Regions from separate parts of the Homo sapiens genome. Here region 2 is linked to region 1. Evidence: promoter capture Hi-C in 16 types of primary human blood cells and fetal thymus (Javierre and others, 2016). All regions are on one chromosome and are shown on one strand. The core of a region is centred on a gene start or on the middle of the fragment in contact, and the rest is flanking DNA. Distances in the headings are between cores, read along the strand shown.

Evidence for each region. The method cuts DNA at HindIII sites, captures the fragments that hold promoters and counts their contacts. A CHiCAGO score of 5 or more calls a contact.
Region 2: a contact is called between a fragment that was not itself captured here and the fragment with the promoter of PPP1R3D in region 1, in 1 of 17 cell types (neutrophils). The highest score is 6.4, in neutrophils.

What each region holds. Positions count from the first base shown.
Region 1 is chr20:59,938,563-59,944,584 of GRCh38, forward strand. PPP1R3D (protein phosphatase 1 regulatory subunit 3D) reads right to left here and starts at 1,743. Exons shown (of 1, transcript NM_006242.4): 1 at 1-1,743. The coding sequence starts at 1,369. The coding sequence ends at 470. FAM217B (family with sequence similarity 217 member B) reads left to right here and starts at 1,827. Exons shown (of 4, transcript NM_022106.3): 1 at 1,827-1,973; 2 at 3,636-3,747; 3 at 3,865-3,950; 4 at 5,378-6,022. The coding sequence starts at 5,382. RefSeq lists silencers at 1,205-1,334, 1,685-2,064 and an enhancer at 1,632-1,926. The HindIII fragment of the contact is 3,202 bases long and covers 1,608-4,809 here.
Region 2 is chr20:60,089,591-60,096,431 of GRCh38, forward strand. The region is part of intron 2 of LOC729296 (a long non-coding RNA gene); the gene reads left to right. Among named protein-coding and RNA genes, the nearest start is that of LINC02910, 37 kb to the left of the region's middle. The HindIII fragment of the contact is 4,728 bases long and covers 2,091-6,818 here.

The DNA.
Region 1 (6,022 bases), core at 493-2,992:
CAGAACTTTTTTTTTTTAGCTTATTAAATCGAGAATATTCCTGAGGAGGCATCCGCTATGGGCTAAAGGTCCCAACATCACAATAATAAATAACAGCTATGTTTACAGAGACACATTCAGGACACATGCAAAAGCTTTTCCTAGCAGGAGGACTTGGGCCTTTGCAAAACAAGCTGCTTGGGCCTCCCCAGAGGGCCCACCCTCCCATGCACCTACCCCACCACCCTGCCCCAACTCATTACACAACTCGGCCTTCTGGCCACCTGAGGCTACTTTTTAGACCAAGTGACTCAGACGTTTCAAGTAGAAGACAGGATGGGCCACTGCCAGGGGACCTTGCAGCAGAAAATTAGGTCAGAGGACTTGGAGGGTGGTGAAGAACAACCAGATAGATGTGAGAGCCCAGCAGGGAAATGACAGGAGGCGCAGCTTAGGTGTGGAGGCTCCAGGTGGCCGGTCCCCGCGCGGCTCAGATGAAGTGGATCCAGCTCTCTTCGCACTCCCCGCGAGGCATGTGCAGCGCGTGGTTGCGACATGTGAGGCTGTAGTCTCGGTGGTCGTTGTTGTCCCAGTACTCGGCACCCGCCACTTGGTAGCGCACCGCGAAGTGCACGCGGGAGCCGAGCTCCAGCAGGAAGGGCGGTACTGGAAAGCCGAAGGTGAAAACGTCCTCCGTGCCCTCGGGGCCTGCGGGCCCGCGCCACCGCGCCACCGCCTCGTGGGTACTGCGCCAGCCCGAGAAAGTGTAGCGCACAGCCACCTGCTTCTCGAAGGCCACGTTGCACACGCGCACCGTACCGCTGATGCCAAGGTCCGAGCAAGTGACACGCTCCAGGCACACGAGCTGCCGCTGCAGGCGCTCGCCAAAGTCGGCGGCCTCGACGGGCGGCGGGAAATCGGGCACCAGGCAATGCAGGGTGAACTCCAGGTCCTGGCTGCTGCAGCACAGGTCCGAGTTGATTGCGAGCCGCGACAGCACGTGCAGCGGCACGGACGGGTCGTCTCCCGCGTTGAACACCTTGACCTGTGCCAGCTCCAAGCCCAGGGCGTCGGCGAAGCGCACGCGGAGCTTCTGGCTGCAGCCCGGCCGACACGCAGCGCCCGGCGCGCCCGCGGCCTTCTGGCGGCGCTCGGGGGAGCTGGGCAGTGAGCGCGCCCGCCGCAGGATGATGGGCCGCAGGCGGGGGTCGCAGCCCGACGGCGCTGGCGTTGGCGGCGGCGCGCGGCCCGGGCTCCCAGGGGGCCTACAGGCCCGCGGCTCCAGGGCCACGCCGCCGTCCAGGTCCGACAGGCAGCTGAGGCTCCGGGGGCCGAGCTTCCGGGATCCCAGGGCGCTAGGCAGGACCGCGGAGCTCGGGCCTCTGGACATGGCCCCGCCGGCCGTCGGAAGATGAGGCAGGGATGAGAGACGACCTCCCGACCCCGCGACAGCTCCCTCCGTGCTCAGAAGCCGCAGAGAGTCCACCGTATCTGCAACCTGCGGGGGACCTCTCGGGCCCGGTGCGCCCTACCCTTGGTTCGCCACCTTGCTCCTCGAGTCCTTGTCCAGGTCCTCCGCTTCTTGCGGTTAAAGAAATTGTAAGAGTGGGGAGTTTTTCTCTAGTGGAAGCTTTCAGAGGCCTCCCGGGAGCGCAGGGTAGCGCCTCTTTTTTCTTCTTGCTTCCTTGGAGGTTCTTACAAGAAGGCTGCGTTCCGGGAGCGGCCCCTCCCACTTTCCCGGTCCGCGGCGTTACTTACAAGGCTGCAACTTGACCGGGTGCAACTTCCTAGCGAGCCTCCGCCCCGCCCCTCGTGACGCCGCCTGCAGGCGGGCCCCCGCCGGCCTCAGCTCAGCCAGGGAGCTCAGCGGAGCTGCGCGCCTCCGCCTCCAGCTCCCCTGCCGCAGCGCGCCGCAGCCGGGCGTCCCCGCGCGGGCGCCGGAGAGGAAGGAAGGCTGGCAGCCTCGTCACGTGTCCGCTGCAGTCGCGAAACAGGTCTGATCAATTTCTGTTTACGTCTGCCTGGATTGCGCGCCTATCGATCATAGACTTTGTCTGCACAAACGGAGGACAAGGAAAATGCATGCTGCGTGTCCTTAGATTTCTGGGTTGTGGATGGGGGGAGCGGTGGTGCAAAAACCGGCCTTGCCAGGAGCTGGTCTCAGGCTAATTTTAAACATCGAGGCCAGCCCACACTTTGGACAGGTTCACTGCAACCTGGACCCTTGGTCAGACCGAGGGAGCCTCACTGCGTAGAGGAGCAGCGTCATGTCCACATCACCCAGAATGCTTTGCCGCACCGAATGGCCAGCAGATTCCCTTGAGGGTGGGGAGGGGAGGTGCTGCTGTTGTCTTCCTGGACTCCGCGCCAGAGAGGAAGACAGGGGAACAAGAGTTATTACCCGCTGATGACTTCTGCAGCTGCCCTTAATCAGCCTCTGGCGCTTGGGGAGCATATTTGTAGCCAGAATCTCCGACTTTTAGCTTTGTTTCCAAGCAAGCCAGAAACACCAGCAAGGCCTGGAGCTTGTTTTCTGCCTATTTAGAACCCTGCAGGCATTCGTGTCTCTCACCCGGTAGCTTTGAGCACAAAACCCCACAGCCTTTGGTGTAAAGCATACCAGGTGAAATGAAGTAGAAAAGATGCAAGTGCACTTTCCAGAGAGCAGTTTGGGGCCAGCCATTCCATTAAGAAGGTTCCTTTTTATTGTCCAGAGGGACAAAGCAGAAAGAAAACCAGACTAATGAAAGGGGGTTGATTCAAGAACATTCGTTGCATCTAAAATGAGTCAAGGCTGTTGATTGTGGTATAATTCATGAAATGTGAGAGAATGATTTTATTTATCATTGGATGTAAGCTAACTAAAAAGGCTTACATGATTAATGTGGGAAAAATACAGGAAAGTTTCAGGAAGAAAATAAAAATCTTCTATAATCATCTCTTTTATTTTACAGAGACAGGTGATACGGGAAAGAGAAGTATCCAATTTCCATTCAGTGCACTTTTAATAGGCCACTCAAAATGAGAGGGGAATAACAGCAATATGTGGTATAGGTCAACAATGCTTCATAAAGAGATGATATATAATATGTAATATGTATGAATATATGGAAAGTCTTATAATGGATTGATGTGATAGAGAAGGCCGAAAAATTGAATGGGAACGTTCCTCCTAGAGTTTAAGCTCCTTCTGAACAGGGACGTGCATAATCATTGCCATTTTTCTGGGTACTCCTGTAATTATTTGTTGCATGAATGAATGATTGGGCAATGCAATGATTGAACGCTGTAATAAGACCTGACCTTATTTAGCCTTCCAGATTTCTTCAACATATTATTTCCAAGGAAGATTATACCTGTGTGTGAACAGGGAGAGAGAGAGAGAGATGGAATCCATTCACAGTATTTATAGTAGTGTGATCCTGTGATCCTGTCTCTAATATCTACTGTAATAAGCAGAAAAGACAAAGCTGTAAGCATAAGACAATGTCTCCCTTCCCCAGTATTTCATAACCTAGAGTGCAAACCACTATATGATCACAGCCTTAATATTTCAATATTATACAAGTATTAAAAAACAAGTGAAAAACCAACCCGATACTGGTGGTAGGACCATTTGCAATCAATAGTTACTGACAGTATTCTGTTGCTTCTAGTTCCGGTGGTGAGGAGACCTTTCCAAATATAAGAGGAATAAAGAAGTCACCTCCCCAGCTGTCATCATCTTCCAGCAGATTGAGCAAGAATATTTTGAGCACTACAGGAAAGGTAATGTAAACTTAGAAGAAAAATCTGACTTAGATTTATTCTGGGATTTTTGTTTGTTTGCTTGCTTGTTTCTTGTGTACATGTTCACAGTGTTTATTACTGCATCCCTGTTTTTAGACAGTCCATCAAACCCGAGATGATGATCAGCCACGTGATTTTTTCAAGAAGAGGAATAGGGTGAATGAATCTCATCAGAAAAGCAGGTAAATAGTTTTAGTATAATTGCTTTATCTTGCAAAAGACTCATTATCTCTGTTGTCCAGATTGAATATGTGGAGTGGGGAAAAAAGTATGTCTATAGATAAGAAATATACATTTATAATTTTTTTCTAGCAGAAATGAATAGAAAAGTGGTTTAAGCATAATAGTGGATAAGGATTCCAACGGTCATAATTCTGGCAGTTGTTAGCAGAATTATAATTTTGAGTAAGTCCTTTAATCACTTTTCTATGTTAGTTTCCTTTTATATAAAAGGATAGTGACAATAATTAATTTTTATGGATGCATACTGACAGGCAGGAACAAAATGTTTTAACAGTGTTATGAATTCTGAATAATGGAGATTCCTTCATTTCTTCATTTATTCAACATTTATTGAGCACACGTTGTACTATTGGCAATGATTTAATGTCCTGCATATTTATTAATTAAAATGTAGCACGTATTCAAATAGTTGCTTAGGTTGTTTGAAACCACTGGGCAAATGAACCTCTGAAGTTTCCAGAAAGCATGTTTACCACCCATTTCTATTCATTCTATCTGACTTATATTACAGAGAAGTATTATTAATCTTAAATGCCACGTTCTTGGTAAATAAATTGAAAAGAGGATATTTTCAACTCTGATGTGAGATTCAGCATCAGAATAAATTATGCCAGAGAGAATTAGTTTCTATACTCATAATGCACACAGTATTCATTATTCCCTTTACCTGCTATTCACAAGGTAACACTAAGACCCTGTGTTTTCATTCATATGTGTTACAGGGCACCATATGATTTTATTTCTGTTCTTTAAACACAATTTTCCCAAATGTGTTTTCTGTTTGAAAACATTGTAACAAGCTTTTGATTTAAGGTACAGGTTTGTATGTGCAATACTTTTATATATTAAAATTTCACTCAGCTCAGAATCGCCACCAATCAGTGATTAAACTGCAAAACTTGCATGTTTATTTGATATTTACACTTAATTTAAAATAGGTGTATAAAATAAAACTGTTTTTACTTCTGAATGTTATTAAATGCTTTTGATGGTAACAATTCCAGAGTTCTACGACTGATTTTTTCCAAACTAATGTTTTTTTTTTAAAGTACACACGAAAGTATGAAACAAGCACTTTGAGAAATGTTAATGTTTTTCCTAAATGCTAATATTTGATATAAAATGGAAACTGTGCATTCTCTTTTGTCACATGCATTATATAATGTATCTCAAATAGAGTATTATATGGGAAAATGTTCTGTAAAATTACTTATGCTTTAAGGAGTTTGGAAGCTGACATTTTCTAATGCCTACTAATAGCTGAGACAAAAAAAAGTACAACTAGAAGATTCTTTTTGTTTGTTTAATTATAGCCAGACCATTTTTTGTCATATGTGGTAAGAATTGCAGTTTTATTTTCTCACAGCAATATGAATGCTGGCCCATCTTGGAATAAAGTGCAACATTCAAAGAATTCTTCAGGAAAAAGGCAGAGTAAATCCCAAGTACCCCACGCTTCTTCCCAGCCGAGAAGCAGCCTCACAGCTGTCACCCAGCCTACTGAAGAAAAACTTAAAGAAAGCATTTCCCCGGAAGCAAGACGCAAAAGGAATCCACTCGGTTCCAGGTGTCAGGGGGCCTCAGGGAATAAACTGTTTCTTGATTTTCAGTCAATGAAAATTATTAAAGAGAATGCTGATGAGGACAGTGCAAGTGATCTCTCTGATTCGGAAAGAATTCCCATTCCTCCTTCTCCCCTCACACCTCCAGATCTCAATCTTCGAGCTGAAGAAATTGATCCAGTTTACTTTGATCTTCACCCTGGTCAGGGCCATACAAAACCTGAATACTATTATCCTAATTTCCTTCCATCCCCTTTCAGCTCCTGGGACCTACGAGATATGGCCCTGCTTCTGAACGCAGAGAACAAAACGGAAGCCGTGCCCCGAGTGGGAGGACTTCTTGGGAAGTATATCGATAGACTTATTCAGCTTGAGTGGCTGCAAGTCCAGACTGTACAGTGTGAAAAAGCAAAGGGGGGCAAAGCAAGGCCCCCCACTGCCCCTGGGAC
Region 2 (6,841 bases), core at 3,205-5,704, 150 kb after region 1:
ACTTCCTTCTGTGGACCTCATCTCCCACCCTCTCCTGTAAAACGAGAGGGGGGCTCTCCTTCCTTCCCCAGTCAGCAGCCCTACAATCTACAATGGCAGGAACGTGTGAGTGCTCCTGCTGCCACCCCCGCTCAGCTTCGATGGTGCCCCGTTGTCCACCACACAGCTCTTCTTAGATGCCCTTTTTAAAATGAAATGCTTGCACTTAGCCACACGTATCTTACAAGGAACAAATTCATTGATGGTTGCATTTCTTAGGGACTGGACAACAGTGTGTCATAGGCCTGGAATCTGAGGAAAGGGGGAGAAATGCAAAAAGGTGCAAAAAAGGTGCAAAAAGGGCCACTAGACTTGACCAGCCTCACCGTTTTCACAGAAACTAGACTGAACAAAAAGAAAGTGCTCACTGGCCTGATAGAAGACACGCACTGTTATCATCAATAAGAATGGACTTATGTATTGCTAATGTTTACTATGCAATTAACAATTTCCGTTGACTGTGTGAAGCATCTTAAGTGCATTTTAAATTTGCTCCTCCCAAAAGGGTACATGGGCACTGTCTTTATCCTCAAGTCACAGATGAGAAAATGGAGCCCCAGTCAGGTATTAATTAATTACTCAAGGTCACAAAGAGAGAAGCCAGGTGCCCCAGCAAATCGACCCTGAAGGCAGAGTCCCTGCCCTTCATCCTCCTCCTCTTCTTGGGGATTTTCACTGACTTGGAAACATTCTCCTCTGCTCCTGAGGATGGCCTGAGTTTATCAGAATGGGTGTATATTGGCAATTCTCCTAACATTTGCTGAATCTTCATCAAAGATGCCAATACTGTCTGTCAAGCCTGCAGTTCCAGTGTGGCCCCTCTGCCACCGCGCATTCTCCTCGGTTCACTTTCAATTGCCTTTTAATGGGAGAGAGATAAAGTGAAATTACAGCCTTGGGTAGCTTCTTACTTGGGAGGCTAGGAACAGCCCGGCCCTGTGCATCACTTACTAAAGCTGCATTTACAGTCCCGAGAGCGAAGGGACAGATCGCAAATCAGATCATTTATTGCTGCTGCTAGCTCAGCGAGGAGAACATTCCCAAGGTGAGAGAGGTGGAGGCTCTGTCCGTGAGTAAAACAGTTTGTGTGTCCTGGGCTCTGGAATCCCACCCATCCCCTGGTGGGTCATTTTAAGTGGTAAACTTCCCAGGAGCTGCTTCAGCAGAATCTGAGCGGAGAGCCTTGGAGTGCTGAGAAGAACACGTGATTTGGAGGTGGGGTCTGAATCTTGAGTCCTAGTGCTCATTGGCTACCAAATGCTTATTGATGAAATGTAATTTCAGAGGAACCTTCTTCTGCCATTTAAAAACAGAAATTTAAGGGAAGGACTCTGCTAACTCCTCCAGGTTCTAAGAGGAGGAGCATATGGCAGTTCTGAGCAGACACTTTGGAATCTGGCAGAGCCAAGTTCAGCTCCTGGCTCCCTGACTTATAAGCTGAGACCTTTGCTGGACCTCACTCAGATTCTTCTACTGCAAATTCGTCTTGTGATATCAACAAAGGCATTTACATGTGCCCCTAGCACAGAGCCTGGCATCCAGAAGTGTTCCATAAGCAGCAGCAGTTATTGTGATGATTATTACTGTGACTATTATTAAGAGTTTGCCATTCTGCAAATAGTTGCCTTTTTTCCATTCCTTTAGCACCAGGTGCCTTTGGGCCACCAGCTGCCCTTCAGCAAGCACTGCTCAAGGGTTCCAGGAGTTGCAAGCAGCCCTCATTCTCTTTGGTTCACTTTCAATTGCCTTTTAATGGGAGAGAGATAAAGTGAAATTACAGCCTTGGGTAGCTGCTTACTTGGGAGGCTGGGAACAGCCCGGCCCTGTGCATCACATACTAAAGCTGCATTTACAGTCCCAAGAGCAAAGGGACAGATCACAAATCAGATCATTTATTGCTGCTGCTAGCTCAGCGAGGATAACATTCCCAAGGGGAGAGAGGTGGAGGCTCTGGCCGTGAGTGTAACAGTTTGGTCCCAGGGCTCCTGAGGATCATACTGGGCAATGCTAGCGATATTGGCTGAGGAGAGCAGTAAACGATGACCCACAGAAGCTTGCTCTCTCTTCTCTCTCTGTGTTGTATCTCTCTATATTTTGCTCATCCATCAATCTATGTGTGAGATGGGGAGGCTCTCTGACCAATAGTCTTCAAAAATAAAATGCAATTTGCCAAACAAACAAAAATGACTGAAGTATATGAAAAGGCCCCAGGCTTCCTGCAGTATGTGTGACCTTCTGGGCTCTCCTAGTTTTCTTGTGGGGGAAGATATCTTAGGGGAAGCAAAACTGTTCTCCTCCAAGCTCCAAGGGACCTATTGCAGGAGGTTCCTTGCTTTATTTCCTGGTAGGATCTGGCCATTGAGTCACTGAGAGACCGTGGAGTCTTCATAGACCAAGACCATTCTCTTCATCAAAGTCTCCCTATTCCTGTTGGTGAGCATGGGGCTTGGGACAACACATAGTGCATTCCAGTAGAAAGTATTTACTGAGTAATTTTTGTGAGTCATTATTGAACAAGTGGTGTATTCAGAATTCAGAAAATGTTGTAGGTCCCTTCACTGTCCCCCTGTATGTTCTGTATGTTATACTTGTCTTATGTATGATATCTACATAGGGTGAAGACCCATCAGAGGTTATAATTGTTATTTTCCAACATCCAGCAGATTTTTTAAAACTCAGGAGGGGAACTGGGCTGGGCACCATGGCTCACGCCTGTAATCCCAGCACTTTGGGAGGCTGAAGCCAGTGGATCACTTGAGCTCAGGAGTTCAAGATCAGCCTGGGCAACATGGTGAAACCCACATCTCTACAAAAAATACAAAAATTATCCCGGTGTGGTGGCATGCACCTCTAGTCCCAGCTACTTAGGAGGCTGAGGTGGAAGGATCATTTGATCCTGGGAGGTTGAGGCTGCAGTGAGCCATGATGGTGCCACTGCATTCAAGCGTGGGTGACAGAGCGAGACCGTGTCTCAAAACAAGCAAACAAACAAACAAACAAACAAATAAACCTCAGGAGGAGAACAATCTGTTATACTTACTCAGATTGTTACCATTTCTGTTGCTTCTTCATTCCTGATTCTTCAAGTTTCCTTCTTTTTGAAGAACTTCCTTTAGTACTTCTTGAAGTACATGTTTGCTGGCAATAAATTCTCTTAGTTTTCCTTCATCTGAAAACATCTTTATTTTGCCTTTATTCTGGAAGTGTATTTTCTCTGGATAAATCCTGGTTTGAACATCCTTTCCTTTCAGCACTTCAAAGGTGGTGTGCCATTTCCTTCTGACCTCCATATTTTCTGATGAGAAATCTGTAGTCATTCAGATCATTGTTCTCCTACAGGTTAAATAGATTGCATTTCCCTGTCAGTTTCAAGATTATTATTATTAGTTACTTTAATTTTCACCATTTTGATTACAAAATAGTGAAATATTTGATTACAATTTGAATACAAAATAGTCTGGGTGTGGATTTCTTTGGGTTTATCACCTTTGGAGTTTGCTGAACTTCTTAATTTGCAGGCTTATATCTTTTGTGAAATTTGGGAAGTTTTTGGCCATCATTTCATTACATATTTTTTCAGCCCTGCACTCTTTCTCCTCTATTTCTGAAACTCCAATGACTAGAAAGGAGGCATCTCCTCCTTCAGAATTTTGGCTCTTGTGGGAACCTATTTCTGCCACTGATTATTGCTTGGGGGCTGAGAGAATGGAAAAAAGAAAAATGTGGGGATTTCTGCACTCTCTCAGAGTCCTAGGAGTTTGCTTTCTCACTCCCCAAGCCAGACCAGAGGCCTCCCCACTGATTTCTCTGTCTGAGTCCTGATGCCCATGTCCAGGTCTCAGGCTGTGCTGGTATCAGGCTCGGGGGTCCAGAAGGAGAAGAATGGCGAGCCTGCTGCCCACTCAGTGGCACTTCACATTCTGGTCTTCTTCTGGATTTGCCTGCCACTGTCTACTTTCAGAGCTCACAAATAGTGCTCCATGCAATTTTGCCCAGCTTTTATTGTTACACTCACTGGGAGAGACAGGGTAGAGCCCTGCCTTACCCAGGGTTCTTGCCTGGTTCACTTTTAATACAAAACCTATCCATGCCCAATGTAAAGTCAAGCTCAAATGACACAGAAGTAAGTAGAGTAACAGGAAAAAAAGAGGTCATTTTTTGCCATCTCGCCCCCTAAGGATAGGGCCTGTTGATGCTTTTGTATGATTTTCCAGACTTTTCTCTCATGCACATGCTGGCATCCTTGCAGGGAGCAGTCTGGCCTCTGATGGTCAGGGGTGCAGGCTGTAAACACCAGAACGGCAGGTTCCTGAATCAGTGCCTATAACTCTGGCAAACAACCTAACTTCACCAAGTCCAAATTCCCACTGATGTAAAGTGGGAATCATAATGCCTGCCCCTCAAGGAAGTTCTGAGGGTAAGAGGAGCAAAGGCACATTGTAGTTGCCTAATGAATGTCTCCATGTCATCTGATCTATACATAGAGAGAGCACATGCTCATTTCTGGGTATGGAGACAGACATCGCTTGCTGCGATAAAACCACAGACGGTTGCTCTTCTCTCCCTCTGCTTTGTCTTGGCCATCTCTCCACATTAGTAGATAAGATTGTCTTACTCTCTGGGACGGCTCCAGGTGACATTGTTGCATGGACATGAAGTCGCTTATTTTCTCTGTTGCCTTGGAAACCCCATTTCCTGAGAGTCTTGCCCTCTGTTCTCCCTCTGACAACAGAGGGGCAACCCTTCATCCTCTGTGTGTCCCCACGCTTTTCGATAAGCAGGGGTCATTGGGAAGAAGCCACAGGAGAGTGGGGCCAACAACCCCCGAGAGAGCTTGCCATTCTCTGTTTTAATTCATTGAGGTTCTTGGCTGATGCTGTCTGGATTGGAGGGAAGGGATTCATGTAAGTGTACATTAAGGATTCTAAGATGTGTGTGTTACATAAACTGCAGGGCAGGTATTGATTGGTTTGCTTCCAAGAGTGTGGGGCATCATCTTTTTCCTGGACCAGAAATGACTCCCTGTGGGGGGTTCTTGTTCATTCCAGGAGAAGGGTTGAGGTCCTTGATGGCTTTTCTGGGGTGCTTACCAGGGGTGCCCTGGTGAGTGAGGGGCACTTACCACCAGGAGGTGTTCAGAGACTTGGCATTAAGTAACCATCCACACAGTAAACGTTCGTTCTTCCTCTTCAGTTCCATTCAGTCCTGAGAGCCTCAGAGAGTGTCTCAGACTGGGGCTCAGCCGCCTCTGTGGCTCTTGCCATTTTCTCTTTCTTAACAGGGAGAATGGACCAGAGGCCCAGAGGTGTTGACAGCTGCAGTACCTCAGCAGAATATAATAATATTCATTGATTTTCATGGTATTCCTTTTTTTGATTGTTTTCTATTTGTGGCAAGTTTCATTTTTAAGTGTATTTATTTTCATTTGAAAGCTGAGATAATTTGAAGAAAAATATGAAGTAAACAATGTGGTCCTGGTGATATGCGTGTAGGGTATGATTCATATAGGGGTTCCCTAGACGATTTAAGTTTGGCAAACATTGAACTAACATGTGAATGACTGATAGCAGGGCTTTCCCTGAGAACAAGCTCACAAGGTAGATGGGAAGACTATGGGCAAATGGGCGCAAGAATGCTGTCCATAGATGGGGGGAAATCTCCATCAGTTTTATGCATTTTCTGGGAGTTGACCCTTTCTGCAGACTATCTGCTAAGGTGGGAGAAGAGGAAGGACACAAGCCAGGGCAGGGGGTGGACTGGACAGGTGATGGTGGCAGACAGACTGCTGGCTTTGCTGTCTTGTGGGAAACAGACTGGATAGGAAGAGGCTCACACTCTCCCGAGGGAGACAAAGTCTTTCGTAGCAGGTATCCGTGATTCTATTCTGTCTGGGACGCATTCCCCAATTTCTGGAGGGTGATCCTCTATTTTATCTCAGGGGAATATCCCTTCTCCACTCTTAGTCCATGTGGTGCACACATCACCCAGCTCAGGCAAGCTCACATATTCTAAACCCTTGGCCTCTGTGATTGGTGTAAGGCTGGGCTCCTTGCCCAACAGGGTCCCATGAGGATAAAGTCAGCAATGCTGAATGGCTTTCTGCCAGGGTTGCTAAGCTAGTGGGGGCAGGTGAGGAGCTCTCTGTGAACAGAAGGTCCTGAGATTGAAGCCACCACCTAGGAAGGAGGAACTGACAGAAGGAGAAAGGTCGAGTCCCAGGCATCTCCTTGGAGATTCTGGGCACAACTGGGACAAGAGCCCTCGTTTGCGTGAGCCAGTGAGTCCCTTGCATTCCCATCTTATTCTCTGAAACTGATTTGAGTTGAGTTTTTGTTATGAGCCACTCCAAGTCACATGTACCTACTGACCTACGTGGAGACTCTCTCGTGCTCTGCATGGCTGTAGCCATAGCTCCGCAGTCAGAGAAACAGGCACTGGAGTTGGGACCTGGACTCCCATTGCAGCTCAGCCATGTATGGGCCACAGGACCTTGAGCAAATCATTTCTCCGGTTGATGGGAGGGTGAAGTGAGGGAATCCATGCTAAGCTCCTAGTAAAATGCCGGCATAGACGCTCCGGGTGGATGTGAGCTGCTGCTGATAATGATGGTGATTAAAATAAAACCTCAATTATAATGAAATGTAATTCCCATGCGAATGCTGTTGCTCCCTTCCCCACGGTGAAGTGTGTGTGTGTGTGTGTGTGTGTGTGTGTGTGCGTGCCCACGTGTGCGTGTGGGGGAGGGGGCTTGGAATTGTGGCATCTACAATGCCAGGAGAAGCTTTCATAAGCCTAAGGCTGT